Linked DNA regions of Homo sapiens: region 2 is linked to region 1. Evidence: promoter capture Hi-C in 16 types of primary human blood cells and fetal thymus (Javierre and others, 2016). All regions are on one chromosome and are shown on one strand. The core of a region is centred on a gene start or on the middle of the fragment in contact, and the rest is flanking DNA. Distances in the headings are between cores, read along the strand shown. Region 1 holds the start of CXCL8 (C-X-C motif chemokine ligand 8). Region 2 has its middle 170 kb from the start of BTC.

Region 1 (4,856 bases), core at 1,686-4,185:
ATTGACTGTGGAGTTTTGGCTGTTTTAATAGTTCTAACTCATTATTCCGTAATTCAACACAGCACTACCAACACAGCTGGCAATGACAAGACTGGGAGTATCAAACTAGGATTGTTAGTTCAATTAAAATTTCAGATAAACAATAATGTACTTATACTAAAAAATTATTTGTTGTTTATCTGAAATGAAAATTTAACTGGGTACCCAATTGTTTGTTTGTTTAATCTAAAAACCCTGATTGAAATTTATCTAATAAAACATCATTTAATATCTAAAATAAAATAAATTTACTATAACATCTTTATAACTATTCAATCAATGATTCATCTTCTATTTTTCCAAATTCTTGCACAAATATTTGATGCTTAAATAAATACATAAATAATAAATAGGTTAATAAGTTACACTTGAAAATAATTTATGTTATGATGAAAAAACTTAAAGTGCTTCCACATGTCCTCACAACATCACTGTGAGGTAAGATGGTGGCTAATACTTTTTCCACTTAGAAATAAAGGAGAAACCAAGGCACAGTGGAACAAGGACTTGTGGATCCTGGCTAGCAGACTAGGGTTGCCAGATTTAACAGAAAAAAATCCAGGATTTCCAGCTAAATTTGACTTTATGGCAAAATTTATTGTCCCATCATTTTTATGTGATGCTTCAAATATCACATTCTAGCAAACCCATTCAATTCCTGAAATTAAAGTTCGGATATTCTCTTGGCCCTTGGCCTCAATTTTGCTATTTGTATATTCTCCCGTGCAATATCTAGGAAAATCCTTATATTTAAAAATTATTTGTTGTTTTTTGTAGATTCAAATAAATAATACTTTACATATAAGTATGTTCTGGATATTTCATGGTACAATGAAAAACTATTCATTGTTTACTGAAATTCAAATTTAACCAGGAATCTTGTATTGCATCTGGCAACCCTACAACAGACCCACACAATACATGAAGTGTTGAAGTAGATTTGCTTGAAGTTTCACTGGCATCTTCACTGATTCTTGGATACCACAGAGAATGAATTTTTTTATGAATTCTCAGCCCTAAAATAAAATTAAAAATATAAAGATGAGCTATGTTTAATAAGAAGGAAAGTAGGGTTCTTGAAAAGTCAATATAGTCTTTGACATTCATGTGTTAGAAATGCTCTATATTCTCAACTATAAATAGGGAGATCAAAGAAATTATCATCTAAAATAGGACACTACTGGGAGTGACAAAGAACTTTACTAAGAGTATAGGACACAAGCTTAAACCCAGAATTTCCTGGGCAAACTATGTATGGTCTTTCTGGTCATGAGTACAACAAACTCACTATTGATGCTATTCCTTTTTTTTTTAACCAAAAAGGCAGATACCTAATGACGATTTTTAGCAACAGAAAGAAATTTATAGGCTGACTTTGGATTATATGTCTCAGGATAAATGAAAAATTTAAATTAAAAAATATATAACTTACCTCTTCAAAAACTTCTCCACAACCCTCTGCACCCAGTTTTCCTTGGGGTCCAGACAGAGCTCTCTTCCATCAGAAAGCTTTACACTGAAATAAGAAAGAAATGGTTCAGATTAATATTTAGTTTTTGCATTCAAATCATGATTCCTTAAGTCAGGCATAAAGTCTAAGTCCAAAATAACATTTATAGTAGTTGTGGAAGCTACCATATTTAAATGTCATGTAGACAAATATTTTTATTTTGTTTTGTTTCATTTACTACTGTAATCCTAACACCTGGAACTTTCCTAAATATTTCCACCTTCCTTAATTTTAAGTTTGCTAAAACAAAATATCTAATCTTTTTTAAAGTACTTACATAATTTCTGTGTTGGCGCAGTGTGGTCCACTCTCAATCACTCTCAGTTCTTTGATAAATTTGGGGTGGAAAGGTTTGGAGTATGTCTTTATGCACTGACATCTAAGTTCTTTAGCACTCCTTGGCAAAACTGCACCTGTTGGGGGAAAAAGTGATTAAGGATTGATTTTATCAACAGGCACAGCTCTGCCAGCTACTTCCTTTCTAATTCCAATATGATTATTTGGAGACTATGGAAGGCATCATGTTTCTAGTGAACTCATTCCTGAATATTCTCCTAGCCCTTGACCTCAGTTAGTTCTTTGTTTTAAAAAACAGTCATAACTGACAACATTGAACGACTTCCTATATAAAGAGTTAGAGTTCTTTTTGTACAATATCAACATCTTCATGGTATTTTTATCTGGTCAATATTGCATAATCCTCTGTGATACCACAGTGTTATTTATAGTAGGCAAGCTAAGACTCTCCAGCATAGAAATTGCCTTCAGAAAGAATTAACAGAAATATATAAATAAGTTATACATGCCTGGTCTATAATCAGGGTATCTTTAAACCAGACAGGAATTAATGACAAATCTGAGGCTTGTCAATGAAATACTACAAGGAGTGGAATTGTCTGAGTTACCTTGCTCAACTCAATATTAATACATAATATAGGTAACCGTGGTTCTCAATAGGACATACTATAAATTACTTATTTACGTTAAATATATGCATGCTACATGGTATAAATTATAAAAGCAGAATATCTATATTGATCAAACTTTATACTTTCCTAAGTGTTATATATAGTTTTTTCTAAATCTTCAATTTAACATTAATTGACTGCTAAGATTATATTCTGTTTCTGAATAAAAAGGATGTTTGTTACCAAAGCATCAAGAATAGCTTTGCTATCTAAGGATCACATTTAGACATAGGAAAACGCTGTAGGTCAGAAAGATGTGCTTACCTTCACACAGAGCTGCAGAAATCAGGAAGGCTGCCAAGAGAGCCACGGCCAGCTTGGAAGTCATGTTTACACACAGTGAGATGGTTCCTTCCGGTGGTTTCTTCCTGGCTCTTGTCCTAGAAGCTTGTGTGCTCTGCTGTCTCTGAAAGTTTGTGCCTTATGGAGTGCTCCGGTGGCTTTTTATATCATCACCCTACTAGAGAACTTATGCACCCTCATCTTTTCATTATGTCAGAGGAAATTCCACGATTTGCAACTGATGGCCCATCCCCTCAGGGCAAACCTGAGTCATCACACTTCCTATTTGTTCCTTATCAAATACGGAGTATGACGAAAGTTTTCTTTGATCTTTAAAATAATTTAATTTTAATATACATTTAAAATACTGAAGCTCCACAATTTGGTGAATTATCAATTGTATGCTTTTTTATTTCTAGATAACTTTATCATAGTACCATGTGACAGATATAGTACTAGAGTGGCAGGTGTTAGAACAAGATCATGGATGATTTTCTTTTAATGGCATAATTATTTTTTTTCAGTTAATTACAGATGCTATCATGATGGTGAAGATAAGCCAGCCAATCATTTTATTGGGGAGGTAATTTAAAATAAATCTTTTTCTAAGCATTTTAGAGAGTTTCTAGGAACTGTTACTGCTCTTAGGGGGCATACTACAACTTTTCAAAAGATTTAGTTTTCTAATGCATGTTAACAGAGTGAAGGGGCACATGTGCTTCACATAGAAATCAGTTCCACAAACATTTATGGAGTAACTTTCTGAGTAATGTGGGGGATCTAGAAATAGATAAGACTAGGTACTTGTCCTTAAAGAGTTTGGTCTATCAGAAGAAGAAAGCAATGTAAGGACTGACTATATAGCAGAATAGACAAGTGGTACTAAGACATTAATTCCAGTGGAGGCATAAGAGCAGAATCTTCCAAAGGCAGTTGGAGCAAGGCATTGAGGAATAGGAGGGCTTCAATAGAGGAAGATGAAAGAGAACAGCACATTCCAGATAGGAACAGTATTCAAGGCCACTCAAGTTGTAAAGTTAAGGTATGTTTATGCTCCAGAAAGTGGTGCACTGGAGCTGCTTGGTTGGGGTGGGAGGGAGGTGTTATCTAATGGAAAGTTGTATGCTTAGTGGAAAGAGCATCTGGGTTCCAACTCTGGTTCAGCCACTGTTGCTTCATGCTCTTTATCCAAGGACACCAAGTCTGACCTCTGAGGACCCATGATCACTAGCAAAAGGGATGGAGTGAGAAATTTCAACAAATCATAAAAAGGTGGCTTTATGTCCTAGTGTCCTGAAGAAAAGAATCCAAGACCTTTCTTGAAAGGTCTTGGATTCTGTAGATAAAGAGCACCAAGGAAGGGTTCTTATGATAGTAAAAGTCTGTTCGCTTCTGGGCAAGTACATAATTTATAAATAATTCACCTTGGTGTAACAGTTCTTCATTTTCAGAAAGTACGACAGAGCAGTGAATTTGCCCACACTGTGAACACACTGTGGAGGGGGAATGCCATTTTCAAATGCTTTCCAAAAAGGTTTGTCTGTTTCTGCACAATCATGTTTCTTTTTGTTATCTTTCTCCAACCAACCTAAGACTTGAGGATAAAATAATGCCTGGGTTACACTGAATTCTATAGCAAAGTAAATGTTTATTCTATATAATGTAGCTCCTATAGTTTTCAACTGTAGTATTTCAGAAACTTCATTATTCATTTAATATGTGTTGTTTATCTGCTAATGTCCCTTATTGTAGGAGATGTGAATGCTATGTAAATAGATATAGTACCTGACTTAAAGGACTTTGTTGTCTAGTGCAGAATATGGAAAATTAGTTACACAAGTAAGTAAAATACAGTGATGAGTGTTACAATAACAGGTAATTACAGGAAGTTCTGGAATCAAACAAACATGATCTTTGAGGCAGTTTTGATGAATGAAGGTTTTCTGAAGAAACAACATCAAAAGTGTTACCTTTATTGTTAATGAGGAGAAGAAAGACCAATGGGACTGCTTTGCTAGTACAGGACAGGAAGTACAGGACAATGAAATGTAGGCGAA
Region 2 (4,856 bases), core at 1,727-4,226, 880 kb before region 1:
TTTTTGTTTTCACCTTACATGAAGGACTTTATTTTTTTTTAACTTTCAACTTGTTTGTTTTAACCCCCAACTCCTGGTTGTTAAAAACAATTTTGAATCTTGAGTTTGTCAGTTTATTGAGCTACACCCTTAATTTTGATAACAACATTTTCCAATGACCTTGAAGATGAGAACATTGCAGCTATAGAATGTGGTCCTTTGTAGCTGTTCAATACAATTAAATTGAACATTAACAGGTTGGAGCTCTCTGTGAAGCCATGATAGAGAATTATCCATGAAAGAGCATCTTATTACTACAACTACTATTATTATCTCTTCAGCTTCATGTTTCACCACTCCTACCCTCCTTTCCCTTCAGTTTTCTGGGTTCCAGCCACCATGGCTTCCCTCACTTCTTCAAACATGCCAGGCTCCCTCCTGTCCAGTCCCCTACGCAGTCTTCTCCCCTTCATCTCCCTATTTCCTCTGTTTGCCTAGAGAACTTAGACCCTGCCTTCAGCCTCAGCACTCTCTGATCCCCAAGATTAGGACCGTTCCATCTTGCCTCTACTTTTGTGATTATTTTATTAATATTTGCCTCCCCTGATAGTGGAAGTAGTAGTTTATTTTGCTTACTACTGTACCTTTTGTGCCTGACGCAGTGTTTGACACAGAACAATGCACCATTACTATTTTAAATGCTTTGGCTCATAAACTTCTGTCATGTCATGTCACATCATGCCAGTAGGTGACACCAAAATGCATATTATCTGTGACGAAGCCCCTGAACTACAGCTGTGTTTTCATCTCAGCATAGTCTGAAGCCCAAGAGCAGTTCAGAAAGTCTGTTTCTCAGTTTTTTAGGAGTGGAAAAAGTTTGGGAATTCAATATATGCTTATATTTATATTCAAATAAATATTACCTAGCTGTGAGTAATCTTCCAAGTGCATTATTAATAATTTAAAAATTTGATATTCACAAATTAAAATATTACCCTTCTAAAATTTGAGGGTCCTAATTTAATATTCTGCTAAGAAATCCCACTGTCAAGCAATGCTTAGCAAGAACTTTTAACGCACACTTAGATTGTTGGGATTGCCCGAATTTTCAGAGAAGATTCTCTAACCTTGTTATAATTTTAGGATTGTTTTAAGCTAGCTATGGTTTTCAGTTGCTCCTATTTTTGCATTATTTAATTTATGTATAGAATTATTCCTAGGTTACACTTTTCCTGATGGCTTTGTTCCTGCGTAATTGCTGAAATGCTGCTATTATAATTATTCCTCCCTAATTGTTCCCATCACAAAGCTTTCTTCAATGCTAGAATCAGTGAAGTAGACCATATTTTCTTTTGTTTTCCTTTCGGCTCAGTGAATCCTGATCAGAGAAAGTTTGAGAAATGCTGCTTTTGAGCAGTGTTTAGAGAGAAGTGCAAATGTCTGTGTAGGGAGCTGGGGGTTGGGGGTTCTGTAGGAGAGAAGTTTTGGGAACCTAGGTAGAAATTGAAAGTAGGAAAGACCTTGAATTTCTAAAGTTTAATCTTAGTTGTTCAAAATTTGCATTTTATTCTAGAATCAACCAAACACCTGTTATGTTCCCATTTTTTTTTTTTAAGACAGGTTTATTTTCCATTGTGTATCACTGGGTAAAGTAGATGGTTCCTAGCGTGGGCCATTTCATCCTGTAGCTTATTCCCCGGGCTGAGCACTTCCAAGTATCTCTGTTTCCTTCTATATTGCACAAGTATGAAGATGAAACTGTCAGTGGATAAGCATGATTATGTGAAAAACTTTATCTAAAGCACACTGTTAGCCTTTCTTTTATTTTTCAATAAAATGATTGTTATATTTCAAAAGTTCTGAAGTTTAGAATTTTAAAAATATAAGACTACTTATAAGACTCCAATCATAATTTGTCATAGAATTTACCAGAAAAGTTTCTCTATCTATTCTATCTTCCTTTCTTCGATGACTTTATTTTGATGACTCTGATATATGAATGTAACAGTTTCTGATTAGTATGATAACTTCTGGAAGAAAGGAAAACCTGAACAAATTCAATTTATGGATAATTGCCAAGTCTTGTTTACTATATTTCTAACTCTTCTTTGAACAAACATTTTACAAGGCTTTAAGGGCATTTGGCAACTGTCATTCATTTATTATCTCCTTTATTCAGTCATCCTGTTTTCACTCAGATTTTTTACACACTAATCATACACAAGACAATGCTGTACATGCTGTGAATAATAAATATATGGATGACACAATCCCTGTATACTGTGAGCTTATAATACAATATTAATAAATGCAGGTCCTTGTTATGTTACTTTAATTCTTCCACTTATATTTTTCTCTTCCTTCCTAAGCTTGTTTGTTTGAAACTTTGACAAGCAGCTAACTTCTACCAATAAAGTTTAGAGAAGGTAATGCAGTCATGATTTGGGATTGAGGGTTTTGGGACAGAAACAACAGTGAACTTTTTTCTCCATGAAATAGGAAAATATATTAAAAATAGAAAACATCATCTGGCTGAATAAAGATAAACAGAATAGTAATGACTAACATTTCTAATCATCTTGCATATATTAGCTTGTTTGCTTCGTAGTAATAATTCATAATGGGTACTATTGTTTCTAATAATTTGTAAATGAGGAAACAGGCATGTGTGATAAAGATTGAAAATAAATGCCATGAACTGAGAAAAAAAAATGTCAGATTATCATGATTGTTCTTTTCTTGGAGTCACTGTTGAAAATGTCTTGATAGTAGGCCTGCAAGTCCTATTGGGTCTTTGGTAACTGCATCATTTAGAAGAAGTACAGTATAAGGGAATTTGAATTACCGTAAATAATATTACAGAATTCATGAATTTACTTTCATGTTAGTCCTATTAAGGGCAGTCTCTGAAGTCACGTGAATTGAAATGTACTTAGGAGGAAGACATCAAGTCTTAAGGAATGAAGTTTCAATTCCTTATCTTAAGTCAACACTAAATAGAGTTCAATGAAAGAATCCTCATGAAACTTGGCCTAACATTTGAAAGAGATATTCTTAAACCAAGAAGTATTGTGTTAAGCACAAAGAAAGAGAGATGAAACACATAATTTTCATAAAGGAAATTACTTCTAGGATTCCTCCTTTTCATGTATGCTACTATCTCATTAGCTACTGCAGACCAGCTTTCGAGAAAAATATAAAAGCAAATATATGTCAGCATGATAAGAATAAAAGAGGAGAGTAACATTTTTGAGATTAAGGGTAAAAAATTCAATCAGAAAACTGGGGGGAAATTTTGACATTAGTCTTCAGGTATCATGGCCATACCCATGATTACTATGGCAACAGGTAGCAAAACAGTGATATAGCCTTCCAGTTTGAGTGCCAAGTTTAGAAGACCAGTCACACCCTGCACAGCTCAACAGGCTGTCTCTATATCTCTCCTTTTTCTGCTAAGTGGCTGTTGAAAGACCAAAACCACAGAGACGCTCATTGGCCTCAGCAACTATATTAATTAAATAATTCAAACATGTATTTATTCTTTCATTTATTCAGCAAATATTTAGAGTCTAGCTACCTAGAAACCCTTCCCCTTGGGGCAAAGCCAGTTCTTAGAGAAAGCTTGATACACTGGGGCAAAGCCAGTTCTTAGAGAAAGCTTGATACACTACTTAATCTGTTTTTCCCTTAAAGAGGCTGGCTACAAAATAATAATGCTTCTTTTTATGTTTCTTAAAAAAAAAGCTGATGAACTTTTAGGAGCATCAGTAGGTTATCTGGTCAAAACAAATGACTTGCAAGCATATTTTTTTTGGCACCCCTAAGACTACTGAAAGTTAGGCTCCTGCAGGAATCTGCTGAAATCATTAGTAATGACTTTGCAATTCAGGCTTCATTTAATCTCTCTGAGGACGATTTTTCTTAGCTTGATAAAGTTTGTAGATTTAGTCTTTAATGCTAATGACAAAAAGAGCTTAAATGCCCAAGAGCAGAAATGAAACAAACAAATAAGAGAAACAATAAAATGGAGTGGAGATAAGTAAAATGAAAGACAATTTTTGAAAATCAGTTGTATATCAGGCATGTTACGTACATTATTTTATGCAGTTCTTTCAATAAATGTAATAGGTAGGTAGTGTATCACCCTCATTTTACAGATGAGACACATGCTCAGCAGGGAGCCCAAGGTCACGCCCCTTGTCTTGGGTTGGGCAGACCAGGATTCTAATCAAATCCATCTTGCCCCCAAATTCAGGTTCCTTTCACCACACATAAGTAGAGACCCTTGCTTTTATTGAACAATGGTTGTTAACACATCACTTAAGTAGAGTCTTCTAGAATTTTAGTCAATTTAATATCTATTAAATTTCACTCAAAATAAGGCACACTTAAGATCATCAACAAATTATTGAGACTGAAAGGATATTGGTTAATGGCAGAATGTATGAAGTTCACAATCTATTACTATGATAAGGCAGCTGCCTATTTACTCACTTGTACATAGGCTTTTTTCAGATAATTGCAACTGTAATAAGGAAATTATTCTTTAAACGAGTGCATTAAGGTTATCTAGAAGGAAAGTTTTAATATTATGCATAAATACAAGATACCTAGAAAAAATGAAGAATTTGTGGCCCAGAAAGGATTATTGGGCTACCCATTTATTGATTTATTCACTTACAAATTCAAGGATATTTTTAAATTGAAAATTATGTGCTAGGAATTTTTCTAGATGCTGAAGCCCATGCCAGGGTAATTAAGATTCAGCCCTTCCACTTACCTAATATGTTCAAAACAGTCTACAAATGCCTTCTCTACACCTAAAACTGTTTTAGGCATTTGGCATGCCTTAATGAATCAACAGACAAAGATATATG

Evidence for each region. The method cuts DNA at HindIII sites, captures the fragments that hold promoters and counts their contacts. A CHiCAGO score of 5 or more calls a contact.
Region 2: a fragment that was not itself captured here is called in contact with the fragment with the promoter of CXCL8 in region 1 in 1 of 17 cell types (monocytes); the score reaches 6.7 in monocytes.

What each region holds. Positions count from the first base shown.
Region 1 is chr4:73,738,648-73,743,503 of GRCh38, reverse strand. CXCL8 (C-X-C motif chemokine ligand 8) reads right to left here and starts at 2,935. Exons shown (of 4, transcript NM_000584.4): 1 at 2,782-2,935; 2 at 1,827-1,962; 3 at 1,472-1,555; 4 at 1-1,055. The coding sequence starts at 2,845. The coding sequence ends at 1,040. RefSeq lists a silencer at 4,178-4,472. The HindIII fragment of the contact is 2,023 bases long and covers 2,907-4,856 here.
Region 2 is chr4:74,619,108-74,623,963 of GRCh38, reverse strand. No RefSeq gene overlaps it. Among named protein-coding and RNA genes, the nearest start is that of BTC, 170 kb to the left of the region's middle. RefSeq lists a silencer at 555-849. The HindIII fragment of the contact is 1,252 bases long and covers 2,351-3,602 here.